6 separate regions of the Homo sapiens genome follow, and all the other regions are linked to region 5. Evidence: promoter capture Hi-C in human tissues and cell types (Jung and others, 2019). All regions are on one chromosome and are shown on one strand. The core of a region is centred on a gene start or on the middle of the fragment in contact, and the rest is flanking DNA. Distances in the headings are between cores, read along the strand shown. Region 1 overlaps BTG3 (BTG anti-proliferation factor 3). Region 2 has its middle 68 kb from the start of HSPA13. Region 3 has its middle 15 kb from the start of SAMSN1. Region 4 overlaps CXADR (CXADR cell adhesion molecule). Region 5 holds the start of USP25 (ubiquitin specific peptidase 25). Region 6 has its middle 140 kb from the start of SAMSN1-AS1.

Evidence for each region. The method cuts DNA at HindIII sites, captures the fragments that hold promoters and counts their contacts. A contact is called where the count stands out against the background at its distance.
Region 1: a contact is called between a fragment that was not itself captured here and the fragment with the promoter of USP25 in region 5, in 1 of the 25 tissues and cell types used here (dorsolateral prefrontal cortex).
Region 2: a contact is called between a fragment that was not itself captured here and the fragment with the promoter of USP25 in region 5, in 1 of the 25 tissues and cell types used here (lymphoblastoid cells).
Region 3: a contact is called between a fragment that was not itself captured here and the fragment with the promoter of USP25 in region 5, in 2 of the 25 tissues and cell types used here (dorsolateral prefrontal cortex and spleen).
Region 4: a contact is called between a fragment that was not itself captured here and the fragment with the promoter of USP25 in region 5, in 1 of the 25 tissues and cell types used here (dorsolateral prefrontal cortex).
Region 6: a fragment that was not itself captured here is called in contact with the fragment with the promoter of USP25 in region 5 in 1 of the 25 tissues and cell types used here (lymphoblastoid cells).

Annotation. Positions count from the first base shown.
Region 1 is chr21:17,592,504-17,595,488 of GRCh38, reverse strand. BTG3 (BTG anti-proliferation factor 3) reads left to right here. Exons shown (of 5, transcript NM_006806.5): 5 at 1,157-1,836. The coding sequence ends at 1,396. It also overlaps a transcript of CXADR not described here. Among named protein-coding and RNA genes, the nearest start is that of BTG3-AS1, 18 kb to the left of the region's middle. The HindIII fragment of the contact is 4,038 bases long and covers 1-2,985 here.
Region 2 is chr21:14,449,725-14,452,424 of GRCh38, reverse strand. No RefSeq gene overlaps it. Among named protein-coding and RNA genes, the nearest start is that of HSPA13, 68 kb to the right of the region's middle. RefSeq lists a cis regulatory region at 144-305. The HindIII fragment of the contact is 8,805 bases long and covers 1-2,700 here.
Region 3 is chr21:14,559,790-14,562,577 of GRCh38, reverse strand. It overlaps a transcript of SAMSN1 not described here. Among named protein-coding and RNA genes, the nearest start is that of SAMSN1, 15 kb to the right of the region's middle. The HindIII fragment of the contact is 4,835 bases long and covers 1-2,788 here.
Region 4 is chr21:17,518,249-17,520,978 of GRCh38, reverse strand. The region is part of intron 1 of CXADR (CXADR cell adhesion molecule); the gene reads right to left. It also overlaps the pseudogene BTF3L4P1. Among named protein-coding and RNA genes, the nearest start is that of CXADR, 6.6 kb to the right of the region's middle. The HindIII fragment of the contact is 3,232 bases long and covers 1-2,730 here.
Region 5 is chr21:15,728,548-15,731,247 of GRCh38, reverse strand. It overlaps USP25 (ubiquitin specific peptidase 25), which reads right to left and starts at 1,266. Exons shown (of 26, transcript NM_001283041.3): 1 at 810-1,266. The coding sequence starts at 854. RefSeq lists a silencer at 702-1,661. The HindIII fragment of the contact is 10,815 bases long and covers 1-2,700 here.
Region 6 is chr21:14,721,760-14,724,604 of GRCh38, reverse strand. No RefSeq gene overlaps it. Among named protein-coding and RNA genes, the nearest start is that of SAMSN1-AS1, 140 kb to the right of the region's middle. The HindIII fragment of the contact is 3,165 bases long and covers 1-2,845 here.

The DNA.
Region 1 (2,985 bases), core at 463-2,962, 1.9 Mb before region 5:
GGATAGAATATCTCTAAAGGTATATTTAAAAAAATGTTTGGTGTCAGTTGCCCTTGAGAAGGGTTAAGATAAAGAAGATAAAGGGTGAGATAAAAAAAGAGGGACTTTCCACAGTTTACCCTTTTGTACTTTTTGAATTTTCTATCATGAATGCAATGCTATACACAATATAATTTTTTTAAAAAAATCCTATACTTAGAAATGCAGATTTGAGATCAGCAAAATCAGAAATTTAAGAAGATGTGGCATTCTAAGCAGAGAGGTCTAAAACTGCTGATAAGAACACTTTGAATAATGTGAACCTGACGTGCCCACCTGATTTATGGGATAATCTAAAACTATTATTCCCAAATACTAAACTGGCTACATCAGAATCACCTGGGGAGCTTTGTCAAAATACCTGGCCTCTAGTTCTGAGATTTTATTATTGTTCATTAGACCAGTGCTAGGGCATGAATGTTTTGTGTTTATCTTTTTTTTTTTTTAACTTTTATTTTAGGTTTAGGGATACACATGAAGGTTTGTTCCATAGGTAAACATGTGTCACAGGGATTTGTTGTACATATTATTTCATCACCCAGGTGTGAAGCCCAGTACTCAATAGTTATCTTTTCTGCTCCTTTTCCTTCTCCCACCCTCCCCTCTCAAATAGACTCCAATGTCTATTGTTTCCTTCTTTGTGTTCATAAGTTCTTATCATTACCTCCCACTTATAAGTGAGAACATGCGGTAGTTGATTTTCTGTTTCTGCATTAGTTTGCTAAGGATAATGGCCTCCAGCTCCAATGTTTTGTATTTAAAAGCCTCCAAGTGACTCCTGGCTTAGCCAGCTGTGGAAACCACTGGACTAAAACAAGCATGTCCTTACAAGCTTCCATTCGTTCCATGTTTTGGTCTTTTTTGGTTGAAGTTGTTTAGGAAGTACTGTGTTTGAGTTTATTCATTTCTTTATGCATTCAGAAAACATTGGTCACCTGTTATACATTATACGCCTATTACACATGAGGTTTTTAATGTATTTAGACCTGACAATAGGAGTGTCACTTAGATGTGATCTCAGTGTTGTGGGTAACTTTGTTTGTCTTTAATGAGAAATCTGGAACATAGATGATGATTTTTTCCTTTGAATTAACTTAATGTGTTCTCTTCCCTACAGATTTCAGAACTTATATTTCCACCTCTTCCAATGTGGCACCCTTTGCCCAGAAAAAAGCCAGGAATGTATCGAGGGAATGGCCATCAGAATCACTATCCTCCTCCTGTTCCATTTGGTTATCCAAATCAGGGAAGAAAAAATAAACCATATCGCCCAATTCCAGTGACATGGGTACCTCCTCCTGGAATGCATTGTGACCGGAATCACTGGATTAATCCTCACATGTTAGCACCTCACTAACTTCGTTTTTGATTGTGTTGGTGTCATGTTGAGAAAAAGGTAGAATAAACCTTACTACACATTAAAAGTTAAAAGTTCTTACTAATAGTAGTGAAGTTAGATGGGCCAAACCATCAAACTTATTTTTATAGAAGTTATTGAGAATAATCTTTCTTAAAAAATATATGCACTTTAGATATTGATATAGTTTGAGAAATTTTATTAAAGTTAGTCAAGTGCCTAAGTTTTTAATATTGGACTTGAGTATTTATATATTGTGCATCAACTCTGTTGGATACGAGAACACTGTAGAAGTGGACGATTTGTTCTAGCACCTTTGAGAATTTACTTTATGGAGCGTATGTAAGTTATTTATATACAAGGAAATCTATTTTATGTCGTTGTTTAAGAGAATTGTGTGAAATCATGTAGTTGCAAATAAAAAATAGTTTGAGGCATGACAACGCGTGTTTCTGTTGTGTGCATAAAAGGGGAAAAGAACGGGTATTTCCCTTCAATGTATTTAACTAAATAGCAAAAACATTAAACAGAACGTAAGAATTTTAAAATTTCCTTTGAAAAATCAACTATTAACCATACTTTTCCTAAAAGACCACATATCAGAATATGCATATGAAAAGTTAAAAATTTGTTAGTGGTAGTTATTGAAAATATAATAAAACATCTTTTAACTATCAGTGTCACTATACATAGGGTTTTTTAACAAAGAATTTGGCTCGTACTAATTTTGACATGACATCTGACTTACATGTCTAATGCCATTGCATAAAGTAGATGTGTTCTTACAGCTGCTCTAATCTCTGTGCCTTGTGCTTTTTTTAAAAAACATTTAAGTCTTTACTAGAGGCCTAAAATAAAGTCAAATAATACAATACTTCAGATTCTTCAGTAGTCCATATTTATACAACTGTAATTCCATCAGTCTTGTAAGGGTACTTGAACTACAAAAAGAAAAAAAGAGATATCTCTATAAGAGTTTTGATTTTTCTCCAAAGGTAAATTTTTAAAAACTAAGATCAGCAATACTTTTTCCATCACCTTCATCTTTAAATTTGCAGTCTTAAATTATTTGACTTACCAGAAAAATCACAACTTGCTAATAAATCATTGAATGGCCATGGCTATTCCACAAATTATTGTTATTTTTAGGAAGATAAATTCTGTTGAAATACAAAACTGCACAAATCATAAAGGTATAGCTCAATAGTATGAAAATGTCAGTTTTTAAAGTTTGCAACTTCAGAAAACTCATTTTTAAACCTTAGAGACTTTTCTAGCTTTAATATTGTACTCTTTAAGCCATACACAATTTTAACATCTCTCTAAACCATATCTACTCTTTTCCTGAAATCTAGTGACTGCCTATTCAAACATGAGCATGTTTGTTTATTAGTGTCACAAGGGAGATGCGTTTTATCAATTTTTTTTAACCAAAGTTATTGAAAGAAAAAAAGGAAAAAAAAATTACTTTCAGAGTCATCACACTGCTTCCTTATGGGTCCTTGAGAGTTTTGTGGTGATAATGACAGATTTGTAGGTGATTGGCGTAAAGTTGGAAAGTTTCAAGTATTTTTATCATGAAGTTAGCA
Region 2 (2,700 bases), core at 168-2,667, 1.3 Mb after region 5:
GGTCAATAGTGCTACATTTGTAGGTGCCCCTCGTCTCAAAAACCAATTTGGCTTATCTGCTTTCTCCTTCTTACATACGTCTCAAAAGCTGTAACAGATTCAGGGAAATAGATGACCTAGTCACAAATGCTCACTTCTCTAGGGACTTGCCTTTAAATTGACCTTGAGCTTCACAAACCAAAAAGAGCATTTGTGTACCTCAGGACAGTATTAAATCTGAAAAAAAATTAAATAAAAAATGAGGGATAGGAGCAGATGGTCAAAGCAAATACATACTCATTCAGACAGCCAAGCCAATAGATAAGAATGCAGAGGCCCTATTAGCTGCAGATTCCTTATGGGGCATAAGCGGTTACAGGAAATGTCTGTTTAGATTAAGGTCACACAATCATCAGTCTTTTACAAGAAATTTTAAAATGTGAACTCGTTCAACTTTTTATGTGGCTTTGTGTTTCTGCTGTTTTAATTTGGAAGATTTTGTTGATATTGGGGAGAAAAAAGTAACAAACTGGGGTTCAGTCAAGTCGTATATGGGTCAAGAAACATTTTATTGTTCACTATGAATTTTAATGTACTCAGATATCACCTTGCTGCTAAGTCTTGTTCCCTTGTTCTCTGAAGAAGAAACACACACAGCTGTGTGGTAATATTAGTGGGATTATGGGCTACCAATGAATATACTGAAACCAAGATATGTGTGACTTATGACATAAATAAAAACTGTTGCTACCATGAGAGGGAAACACTCACAATTAATACTCACTGGCTTGTATAGGGCATGCCTGTTTTTAAATCTCCAACTGGCACCTACTGATGAGGGCTATTTTAAAAATTAGGGACGGAAAAGGTAAAGAGAAATCAAGGCTAAAGGTTGATTTTGCTACTCAATCTGAAATAAACATAACCAGAGTTTTTGAAAGGTAAAAACAAGATAAAATAATTATAGCTTAGAGTCTTAACTAGTACTTTCTAAGTGCTGTAGATAGTGTGGCAGGTTAAAGATGGCTATACATTTTTTGATATTTTTCCCATAGAGAGATGGAATCTAGAATTCCTCCCTCAATCTGGGTTGTATCTCTAATGGCTTTGATGAGTTGAACAGGACAAAACTGTCTCTGTGTTAGTTTCTGGACCTGGCCCCTAAAAATCTGGCAGCACCTATTTCTCTTTTCTTAAAACACTCTGTCTCAGAGTCTTGAGCTTCTGCATAAGAAATCTGATTATCCTGAGAAGGTCTGCTGGAAAGGTCACAAGTAGGACATCTGGTCAATCTTTTCAGCCTTCCAGTCATACCTACACATGCTAGATATGTGGGTAAAGCCACCTGGACCTCCCAACCAGCTCATTTGCCAGCCAAATACCACCAATGGCCAACCGATGAAACAGAAGAATGAAGGAGAAGAATTGCCCTTTTGAGATCTGCCTACATTTCTGACCCAGAAAATTGTGAGATATCATAAAATGCCTGTTACTTGAAGCCACTGAATTCTGGAGTGGATAACCAGAAAATGTAATACACAAGCTCTTTACATATCTTAACCTATTTAATCCTCCTTATCATGTAGGTAATACTATTTTTCCCATTTTAGAGATAAACTAGAAGAAATAGAAAGTCAACAAGATTAAGTAACTTCCCTCCAACTACATTGTCAGTAAAGGACAAAGCAAGGATCCAATCTTAGGCAGTCTGATGCTAGAATCTATACTCTTAGCCATGATATTTTCTCCATCAATTCTGAAATAAAGTCACCAATCTACAAATATTCATGGAGTTCTTGAAATATTGTAAAGCACTGATAGTTGTAATGTGGTAGAGGAGGCATGACCACAGATATTGGTACAGTAATCATATCTAATAAAAAAGAGGCATTCCCTGGACCTTCATTCACAATAAACTACTGTATCTTCCTTAACTTATTGCACCTCCTCTCCAGTTTTCTCTATTTCATCATTCCAATTATTTCCTCTATAACACTTAACCCTATCTGAAATTACTTCATTCATTTATTATTTAGTTGCTTATTGCCTTTCTTCCTCTTTGGAATGTAAGTTCAGTGGAGCTGGTGTGGAATGGTTTGAACATCGCCATATACTTAGTTTTACTTTATTTAATAAAAAGTTATTAACCAAATGTGCTAACATCTCATCATCTCATCCGCTTCAGGCTATGCTGTTAGCTTTAAAATACTAAAGGCATTCAGGCTGAATATTTAAATGTTGAGGCCAAGAGCACAGAAGAGATCTCCAGGGCCATTTCTTCCCTTTCCAGAGAATACATGCCATTTTTAGCTAGAGCAGATGTCCTCAACTTGAGCACAGTGGATGAGAGTCATATGGTTTATCAGCCCTTTACGTTTGTACCCAAAACATAGGTGTGTAGATTTGTGTGCCTTTATTTTGAGAGAAGAACCATAACTTTTATCATATTGTCAAAACAATCCTCAAATCAAAAAGCATAAAGTTATTTTTTAAAAAAGATTACTTCTTAACCTTTTTTTTCACTGTCATCTCCCAAGAAATAAATTTTTCATAAGGATTTAGTATGTGAGGTCTCACATACACAAAGAAAAAAATGGAAACAAAATGTCATGAAATAATATTTCCCCCAATTTCATGCACTTCACTTAAATATTTTCTATTTTATTTTTTCTACTTCATATTTGAAATGCTGGTTTTGACCTGCAAAACTGATTTCACACT
Region 3 (2,788 bases), core at 271-2,770, 1.2 Mb after region 5:
AGTCCATATTATATAGTATTATATACATACATATATATAAATATATATAGTATAGATAGTATTAGTATTATCATTTTTCACTATGACATTCCCATCACTAAATAAGGGGACCTGGCAGGATTATATTTCAAAGCATGTCTCTTTCTTTGTTCAGGTAACATTATGCAGACAGGAGAGCTCTAATATAACATGTTGGACCAAACTGAGAGAGAAGAGGGGTGATCTTTTCTGCATTCTGTTTGTCTGTTTCATAGACAGGAAAACACCGAGGAAGTTTAGTGATCAACAAGCTTTAGAAATTTTGAAAATTGGAAGAAAGGTATATCTCTCTATTTCCCATCTCTACTCCATGCTCCACATTTCAGCCAGTGCCTTTTATCTAACCACATATCTAACTGTGTCCCTCTCTTGCTTCACAATGGTTCTTCAATTGTTCCCCACCCCATGTAAATGTATACATGCTCACCTTACATTCAGCTCTACACTATTGAGCATAGTATATTGGTTTTCCAAGGCTGCCATAACAAAGTCATACAAACTGGGTGGCTTACAGCCACAGATATTATTGTCTCAGTTCTGGAGGCTAAAAGTCCAAAATCAAGGTATTGGCAGGGCCATGCTCTTTTCAAAGCCTCTAGGAGAGACTCCTTCCTTGTTTCTTCCAGCTTCTGATAGCCCTGGGCATTAGGCATTCCTTGATTCATGGTGGCATAATTCCACTTCCTGCCTCCATCTTCACATGGCCAGTCTCTCCCTGTTTGTTCTTATATGGTCATCCCTTTGTGCATGTGGGTGTCCAAGTTTCCCTCTTCTTTCAAGGACACTGGTTTTATTGGATTAAGGGTTCACCCTGCTTCATATGACCTCATCTTAACTAAACTAATTATGTTGGCAACAATCGTATTTCCAAAGAGGGTCACATTCTGAGGTGCTGGGGGTCAGGAATTCAACATATCTTTTTTGGCCATATAGTTCAACCCATAACACATGCCATCCAAATGCTTCAGAATCTGGCTGTAAACTAACACCTGTCATCTCCCTCCCATGTCTTTCTCCTTATTTATCATACACATTTGATGTAGGGAATTATTCCTCAGTTCTAGACCATATTGTATTTGCCCAACAGGTTTTCCTGCCAACTACGCAAACAGCATAAATCCACTGAAACTATGGCATTGCAGTAGAGAAGAATTTAATTGATTGAGGCCAGCCCATGCAGAAGAACTAGAGTTATCACTCTAATCAGGCTCCCCAAAGGCTTGGAGGTGGTTTTTATGGACAATTTTGTGGGCAGGGAGTTAGGGAATGGGTGCTGCTGATTGGCTGGGGAATGAAATCACAGGGTGTTGAAAATGGTCCTCGGGCACTGAGTCTGCCTCTGGATGAGGCCACATGACCAGTTGAGTCATGAGTCTGGGTGGGGCAGCGTGAAAGATACCTCAAAAAACCAATCTTAGATTCTACAATAGTGATGTTATCTACAGGAGAAATTAGGAAAGTCACAAATATTGTAACCTCTGGCTACATGACCCCTGAGCAGTAAGGAATGGTAGAAACTGTGTCTATCTTATCAGTGTTCAAGACCCTCTCATAAAAGCCTAACAATGTGGCCTTTCATTAGTTTTGCAAAGACGGTTTAGTTTTGGACTTTTAGCCTCCAATACTGAGACAATAATATCTGCTGCTATAAGCCACCCAGTTTGTATGACTTCGTTATGGCAGCCTTGGAAAACTAATATACTATGCTCAATAGCGTAGAGCTGAATGTAAGGCGAGCATGTATACATTTACATGGGGTGGGGAACCACTGAAGAACCATTGTGAAGCAAGAGAGGGACACAGTTAGATTTGTGGTTAGATAAAAGGCACTGACTAAAATGTGGAGCATGAAGTAGAGATGGGAAATAGAGAGATATACCTTTCTTCCAGTTTTCAAAATTTCTAAAGCTTGTTGATTACTAAACTTCCTCAGAGTTTTCTTGTCTATGAAACAGACAAACAGAATGCAGAAAAGATCACCCCTCTTCTCTCTCAGTTTGGTCCAAAATGTTATATTAGAGCTCTCCTGTCTGCATAATGTTACCTGAACAAAGAAAGAGACATGTTTTGAAGTTTAATCTTTGCTCTAAGATTAAACTATATACTAAATTCTTCCTAAAGTTAGCTTGGCCTACACTCAGGAATGATCAAGGACAGCTTGGAGGTCAGAAGCAAGATGGAGTCAGCTATGTCAGATTTCTTGCTGCCATAATCTTGCAAAGATGGTTTCAGTACCAAACAATTTCATGTCTCTAATATCATATACTCTGCCCATTGCTAGAATATGCCCCCCATTTTTCTTGTCCACCTGACAAATTCCTGTTTCACTAAATGTTTTCTCAAGAATTACCTTTTTAGTAAAACATTTCCTAACTTCTCCAGGCAAATTAACAATTTACCCTCTATGCTTTCACTGCTTATTACACCTCAGATTGATACAGAACATGTTACATTGGATTCTCACTCTCTGTTGATCTGCCTGTCTTCCCACTGAACTGTAAAGTCTTGGAAGGCACAGTTCATACCTTTCCGTCTTTGGACACCTGACAGAGTCCCAGGCCCATAATAGATATTTGGTAAATAATTGTTAAACAAATAAGATGAGACCACCTCCTTCCAAATCTTGCAGCATAACAAGAATGCTGGGAAGAGCCCAGAAACAATATATTATGCCTGTGGGGAATTCAAATCCCATTCATTCTTATCTCTGTCTGCCTAAAAGAGGGATTTTGAGGCCAGGCTTGGTGGC
Region 4 (2,730 bases), core at 117-2,616, 1.8 Mb before region 5:
TGTGTTGCAATCTTCCTATCAGATATTTTTTTACCTCCTTGCCTCTCAGGCACCTCAAATACTACCTGTCCAAACTTAAGCTCATTGTCATCTCCCTAAAACCTGCTCCTTTTTATTTCCCGTAGGTTAGTGACATCATTATACACTCAAGCCAGAAATCTCTCCAACTTTTTCATGCTACTCATTCAAGCAACCAGACATCAGGTTCCACTACTATCTTCTTCAGAAAAGCTTTCCAGATCAAAGCAGAAGCCCAACTCTCTTCTGCTGCGTTTCAACAGGGACTGCTTACGTCCAGATCATCCCAGAGGATTCCTGTGTTAGCTCTATCAGTTCTACCTTCCTTGAGAACTGCTACATAGCTACCATTCAATAAAATAAATCTCAGCGTATAACCTTACTTCTCGACACTTCCACAAATGTCTTAGTACCGTGGGGTTAGGGTGCATAACCTGACAGACCTGTCAGCTCCCACCAAGCTCTCAGTATGGCCTTTAGATCTTTGCCCACACAAAACGTGGTCAGCAGTGACATCATGTAAAACTTGTTAAAATGCAAACTCACAAGCCCCACCTAGACTTCCTTGTAAGAATCATTCAGATGCACAAAGTTTGAGAAGCACTGGTTAGGTGCCTTACATGCACTGAACTACTCAACTCCCAAGACATATCAAACCCTTCAGATCTCTATGTCTTTGCAAAAGCTGTACCATCTGACTGGAAAATTCTGCCAAAGCTTTTGCAACTTGCAATGTCATGTTCTATTGTAGGGGCACCTGGCACATGGCTTTGCACATAGTAGTATCAGTACATTAAGTATCACTTAATTAACAGGTGAGTGTACTTGGAGAGTGAAGAGTGTTAGGTATTCGAATGGAAGTTGAATAGTTACGCAGTTGGAAATAGTGGCCCAGGATCCAAAGCAGAGGTGGGTTGAGGTGCAAATATATATTTTATATATATATGTGTGTGTGTGCATGTGCGTGCGTGTGTGTGTGTGTGTATACATATAATTTATTTTGAGATGGAGTCTCGCTCTGTCACCCAGGCTGGAGTGCAGTGGCGCGATCTCAGCTCACTGAAACCTCAGCCTCCCAGCTTCAAGCAATTCTCCTGCTTCAGCCTCCTGAGTAGCTGGGATTACAGACGCACATCACCACACCTGGCTAATTTTTGTATTTTTAGTACAGACAGGGTTTCACCATGTTGGCCAGGCTGGGAGCTGAAAATATTTTTAATTCACTACCAATACTTGGGAGATTACCATGATGGATACAAGAGGTCACCCAGGTTTAAGGTCAAGATTGACTATGGGCTAAACTATAAGGAAGGCTGACATTTAAGGGACCTATTTTAGAAGACAGTAAAGCGCAGGTCAACAGGGTGGGAAAGAACCAAAATAGGTGTCAAGGAGTTCCAAAGAGATAAACCAATTTGGCACATGCATTACTGTAACCTTTGGCAACTGAAGCAGGAGAAAAAATAGAACGAGGTCAAAGATAAAGCAGAAGCTCAGCTTCTTTAGATTAAAAACTGACTCAGACATGACTAGTGGAATAATCACTGTAAGGACCATCTTTATTAGATGAGAAGGGAGAGAGTGATGAACTGAAGAGAGCTCTATCATACACACAGGCCTAGTGGCAAAGAAGTTGAAAACTTTCAGTCATGCAAAAAGGACTTGCTGAACACTAGCTGTCTGCCAGGAGCCACAAGACCATGCAGGGACTGCAACAATGAATATAGGTAATGGCCCTGTCCTCTGATCTAGTGCAGTGAGCTAAGTTGGTAATCGATGGAGACCCCACAACAGACAGGGTAAGGAGCCAATGTAGGGAGGCTTGCCTTGGAGGGGAGGCATTTTTCCTCTGATGGTGGTATAATCGCAGGAATGAAAAGATTAAGAGGGGGCATATCGGGCAGCCATCTTGCTCTTGCCGCGTGCTGGTGCTGGAGGACCCTCCCTGCTTCAGATTTACCAACAGCATGAATCAAGAAAAGTTAGCCAAACTTCAGGCTCAGGTCCGGATAGGGGGCAAGGGTACAGCTCGCAGAAAGAAGGTGGTACATAAAACAGCCATGGCTGATGACAAAAAGCTTCAGAGTTCTCTAAAAAAACTGGCTGTGAATAATATAGTTGGTATTGAAGAGATGAACATGATTAAAGATGATGGGACAGTTATTCACTTCAACAATCCCAAAGTCCAAGCTTCCCTTTCTGCTAACACCTTTGCAATTACTGGTCATGCAGAAGCCAAACCAATCACAGAAATGATACCTGGAATATTAAGTCAGCTTGGTGCTGACAGTTTAACAAGCCTTAGGAAGTTAGCTGAACAGTTCCCACGGCAAGTCTTGGACAGTAAAGCAGCAAAACCAGAAGACACTGATGAGGAGGATGATGATGTTCCCGATCTTGTAGAAAATTTTGATGAGGCATCAAAGAATGAAGCTGGCATGGTTTTTGGAAGCTGGCATGGACTAGATTGAACAAATCAGCTATGTGGTTCCAAAGTTTTACAGACACAGAGAACATCACCTGTTACTAGTTCACTAATATAAATATTTTGTATATTAATAATGCTGTTCAGCATTTTTCTGTCATTTGATTTTGCATTTTGCCTTCCTCTCAGGATATTTTTTTGGTCAAAATATGAAGTATTGGTGCAGTTTGAGGGTGTTCTGGGTTTTGATTCCTGGTTTTTTTGTTTTTGGTTTGGGGTATTTTTGG
Region 5 (2,700 bases), core at 17-2,516:
CATGATAGTGCACTTAAGATTCTGAAAGCAAAATCTAAAATAGCAGAATGATCTCTATTCACTTTAAAGATATAAAGTTTCACAAACAGTTTTTTAATTGTTTTCTTTAGTGAGTGACCATTTGAATGTGTGACTGATGCAAGAGTAAAGGGTGAACGAAAGAACAAGGTCAAACTTAGGGGACAAAAGATTCCTGGAATAACATGGCCAGAAAGGTTTCCTCTCTTAGGGACAGTTTCTATATTGAAAAAAAAAAAAAAAAAAAAAAAAACAGAAAAGAAGAAGAAGAAAGGGAAACCTTAAAAGGAAAAGAAACCAAGCAAACCACCTACTTCTAGAGTCCACCTGGTCAACACGCCTGCCCCGCGAGGCAGGTAATTCGATTTTGGTGGAGACCGTTTTGCAAAATAGCAGGCCTGGTACACTACTACCTTTGAAAGACAAAATCGGTTCAGAAAGGATGACAACTAGCTATTCTTTCTCATTTAAGGGGAGAGAATAAAGTTTCATTAAGATGCCACACAGAGCACTGTAGGAATGTGAGGGTCGCTCTCAATACCTGGCACCGTCTGCTACGGGAAAACAATCGGCAGAAGGAAGTGGATTGAAGCCCGCAAACTACACTCTGCTTCCCACACGCAGCTGGGCTCTGGGCGCGACGCCCCCGAGGCGATGGGCAGGGGCCGGGGGTGACCGGGGAGGAAGCCCGGGAAGGCGGCGGCGGCGAGGCCGGGGCGCCCGGCCGCAGCGGGAGAGGACAGCCCGTCGGAAGGAGAAGTGGGGCCCGCCGGCTGGCGGACTCGCCTCACCTTCTGCGCCGCGCTCTGCTGCAGCACGTTCTGCTCCACGGTCATGGCCCCCGCGGCGGCGGCGGCGGCGGCGGCGGTGGCGCCCGGCTCCTCGCGCCTCCGCCGGCCCTGGCTGCCGCGCTCCGCCGAGCTCCAGGGAGCGGCGCGGACGGCCTGGGAGGACAGCGCCCCCGCCAGCCAGGCGCGAAGGCGATGGCGGCCGGCGTGCGCGGGCACCGCGGGCAGGCGGCGAAACGCCGACTGTGAGGGCCACGGCGGCCGCCTCACGTCTCCACGCGGCCCGCCTCAGCGCCGCTCGTCCGCGGCGGCCCGGGCCATGAGCGGGCGGAGGACGCCGGGGCACGGGAGAGCGCGAGCCAGTCGGGCGGCGTCACGCGTTCGCACGTTCCTTTGCTGCCGGTCCGCGGGCTGCTTTGGGGAAGGGAGAGAGGGGACGGAGGGAGCGGCCGCCCGGAATGGCGTTGTCCTCCTCCCTCCGCGAGTCCTCCTCCCTCCCCTCCCCCACGCGCCATCCCCGCCCCCGCCCGGCGGCTCCTCCCCCGCAGAGCCCCGCCCGCCGGCCGCCCTAACCCTACATTGTGACCCTCCGGGCGGCGGGGCGGGGCCGCCATGGAGCCCCGCCCCTCCCTGCGCGGGCCTGGCGTTCCCGGGTGGGGCGAGGGCGCGCCTGGCTGCCTGGCCCGGGAGCCGCCCCTGCGGCAGGTTGCGCGACGCTGGCGCTGGGCTTCGGGGAGCGCGACTGGAGGCCGGAGGGCAGCGTTCCTCCCTGCGCCCAGGGCTTGTCGGATCCCTAGCTTACCCAAAGCCTCCAAAGCAAACATTTCCCTCCATGCCCATAACGTCCCAAAACTGCGTAGGGTCCCGAACTCCGGCCCCTTTCTGTGTCACGCGTTCTCTCCCCTCGCCTTTCTAGGAATTTCACAAGCCTTGAACTTGCCTGAAGGGAAAAGTCAAATAAGCAAAGGGTTGCCAGAAATCTTTATGCTGGGAAGTACTTTTCTCCTTAACTAATCATTACGTAAATGAATATAGACATTTTCTATCTACCTTCATTCATTCGAATATGTGTCAGTCACTGCTAGGCTCTGGAAAAATAAAGTTTATCTTCCCAAGACTTAATATAAATGAAATAGGATCTATCTAGCAAACAACCTTACAAAAATATCACTGCCTAATGATACATAATTCTAATATCCCAGTTGCCAAATTAAGCAAACAATTAACTACCATGCATGGAATGCTTGACTATATATGGAATTGTAAGGAAAATCTAACATTAAGAAAGCAATCTCTAGCCACAAAAATATCTCGAGTTCCAGGAGCTAATCTGGGAACGGAGGTGAGAGTGCAGCAGTGTGAGGAGAGAAATTATCAATGCATATTGTCACAAATAGAATACACTTGAAAATCCGGGTATAATTTTTAATCCAATGACAAGGAAAGCAAGCTTGGCAAATGCTAATTGAAATAGTATGTGGTGTTATTTAATAATCATGGATTATAGTAGCTCTTAAGGCTTTGTAACAGTTCTGTGCACTTTACAACCATCTTTGTTCTGCAGCTCAGATGTCTGGTACCACCTGTTGTCACCTTTTCCTTGAAGCTTCATATTTGTTGACTCATTTGATATTTAACAAATTGCAAATCTTATTATATTAATATCCTATGTCTTTTCTAGAGGAAATGAAAAGTCATGAAACGGTTGGAAACAGAAATTTAGAAATACTGTCACATCTCTAATCTCACGTATCGATTTTTTTATAACTCTGAAGCCCAAGGAGGGTGACCTGTCAAAGAGAGCTTATCAAAACCCATTTTTCTTCATTTATAGATCAAAGTTTCTTCTTTTCTTGTTTATATGCTAACTTCATGTTTCTCCATATGAGGGTTT
Region 6 (2,845 bases), core at 98-2,597, 1.0 Mb after region 5:
TGTTAGTATATTATATACAGTAGAAACTAATTCTATTGGATACAAAAGATAAGAAAATCAAATGGAATTTAATAACAATAGATAAAAGAGGAATTATTGGCTAAGATAAAGATAAACCAAAGAATTATTGAAAGACAGTTTGATCTGTAATGTAGAATTTGAGATATGTGTGATTTTCTAATTTTTTTTTTTTTTTTTTTTTTGAGACAGAGTCTCTCTCTTGTGGCCCAGGCTGGAGTGCAGTGACACAATCTCAGCTCATTGCAACCTCCACCTCCCAGGTTCAAGTGATTTTCCTGCCTCAGCCTCTCGAGTAGCTGGGACTACAGGTGTGTGCCATCACGCCCAGCTAATTTTTTATATTTTCAGTAGAGACGGGGTTTAACCATGTTGTCCGGGGTGGTCTCGATCTCTAGACCTCGTGATCTGGCCGTGACGGCCTCCCAAAGTGCTGGGATTACAGGCATGAGTCAGCATGCCTGGCCCTAATTCTTAATGTATTTAAATTAGAAATTGACAAACAATAAGGAAAAAACAATAAGGGAAAAAAGAAGTCTTTGAAATGTTAGAAATTGTTAAACTTTCCTAGTTGCCTTTTATATTGATTTTAATGTTTATTTTATATATATTTTTATTTTATTTAAATTATGTTTTATAATTCTAAGTAATCTTTAGATTTTATGTTAAAATTGAGTGAAGATAAATCCTCATTTTCAACGAATATCCCTAAAAACTAATAAGGGTATGTATGCATATTTTTAGTTATCATTTAAAGAATATACATTTTTTTATTTTCAGCAACTTAATTTCCACTATGTTTAACTCAGTGATGTCAGAATTCTTTTTCACTCTGACTCTAACAGATATTGACAGTCTTTAAGTTTTAAGGTGATATTAGGGATAAGAGTAATGCCAGTAAGTATTTAATCACGTTTCACTGCAATCTCTGCCTCTGAGATTGAAGCAATTCTCCTGCCTCAGCCTCCAGAGTAGCTGGGATTACAGGTGTGCACCACCATGCCCAGCTAATTTTTGTATTTTTAGTAGAGACGGGGTTGACCAGGCTGGTCTGAAACTCCTGATTTCAAGTGACCTGCCTGCCTCAGCCTCCCAAAGTGCTGAGATTACAGGCATGAGCCACCGCACCTGGCCTCAGGTTCCAGTTTAGATATAACTTCTTCCTTCCCATTCCCTGCTTACCCCTTTAGGTAACTCCTCGTATTCAATTTTAACTGCTTCTTTACCCATCAGTTCTACCTCACACTGAAACTACACCTTGTTTTCTACGTAAATCTATGCCTCCTACAGGCCTTGGTAGTAATTGTTCCTTGATAGATAATAACCAGATAACAATTAGCCAAGGCACCTGAGCATCTCTGACAGATAGTAAGCCTCCTAAGGACAGGAAACCCATTCCTAGTACCTAACACTTCAGAAGAGGCACTCCAAAAGTATTCTGGAATACATAAAGAAATGTAAGGGGAGCCAACTATGGCATCCCCATGGGGTGCTAAAACCTCAAGTCTTGTTTACATGTAACTTTAGCCGGAGTAAAATTGCTCTCTACTGTTTCAGTTTAATTCATCAAACACTTAATGAGTGCTGTGGGTTTCTTTAGAATTGCAAAGATACCTAAGACTAAGTGCTTCCTCTTGAAGCATTTAGACACTGGTATGGAAACTCCTGCAGGTGATCAACACAACAAAGTTATCCCCTAAAGGCAAAACACGTGGCCTTTTAGACGAGTGTAGTTTAAAGGGTGTTGCAGCACCCAAGATATTTATTTCAATGCTATGCCAATTATTATTGCAGACTATCCTGGGCCACTTATAGCTGTACCCTAGGAATCCTTCCTCTTTAGGAATTCCGGTAAAGCTTGGGCAGTTTTCTACCAAAATATATCTAGAGTTGATAAAAATTTAAGAAGCTGAAGTTTAGGAGCAACTTTATTTCTCCTTAGAAATCGGTTTAGGACAGAAATACCATTTGACCCAGCAATCCCATTACTGGGTATATGCCCAAAGGATTATAAATCATTCTACTATAAAGACACATGCACACATATTTTTATTGCAGCACTATTTACAATAGCAAAGACTTGGAACCAACCCAAATGCCCATCAATGATAGACTGGATAAAGAAAATGTGGCACATATACACCGTGGAATACTATGCAGCCATAAAAAAAGAATGAGTTCATGTCCTTTGCATGGACACGGATGAAGCTGGAAACCGTCATTCTCAGCAAACTATCACAAGAACCGAAAACCAAACACCACATGTTCTCACTCATAAGTGGGAGTTGTACAATGAGAACATGTGGACACAGAGAGGGAAACATCACACACTAGGGCCTGTTGAGGGGTAGGAGGCAAGGGGAGGGATAGTATTTGGACAAATACCTAATGCATGCAGGGCTTAAAACCTAGATGACGGGTTGATAGGTGCAGCAAACCACCATGGCACATGTGTACCTATGTAACAAACCTGCACGTTCTGCACATCCATCCCAGAACTTAAAGTAAAATAAAATAATATATATTAAAAAAAAAAGAGAGAGAGAGAGAAATAGGTTCAGGATTGGCCAGACTTCATTAGCATAGAAGCTCCTCCTGCTTTGGTCCATGAAGGCAAGTTATATATCATTTCATGTTGGTCAGTGGATCCATGCGAATTAATGACCATGTGCATTTGGCCATATGCTCTAAAATTTGGACACTGCCAGAGGTGCCAATAAGGATAATGACCTCTATCCTGGCCATAGCTTCCAGTTGCAAATGACTATAATACCATAATCTGACTAGAGGTCAGAGAATCACTGGGCGCAGTTTTCCATAGTGCAAT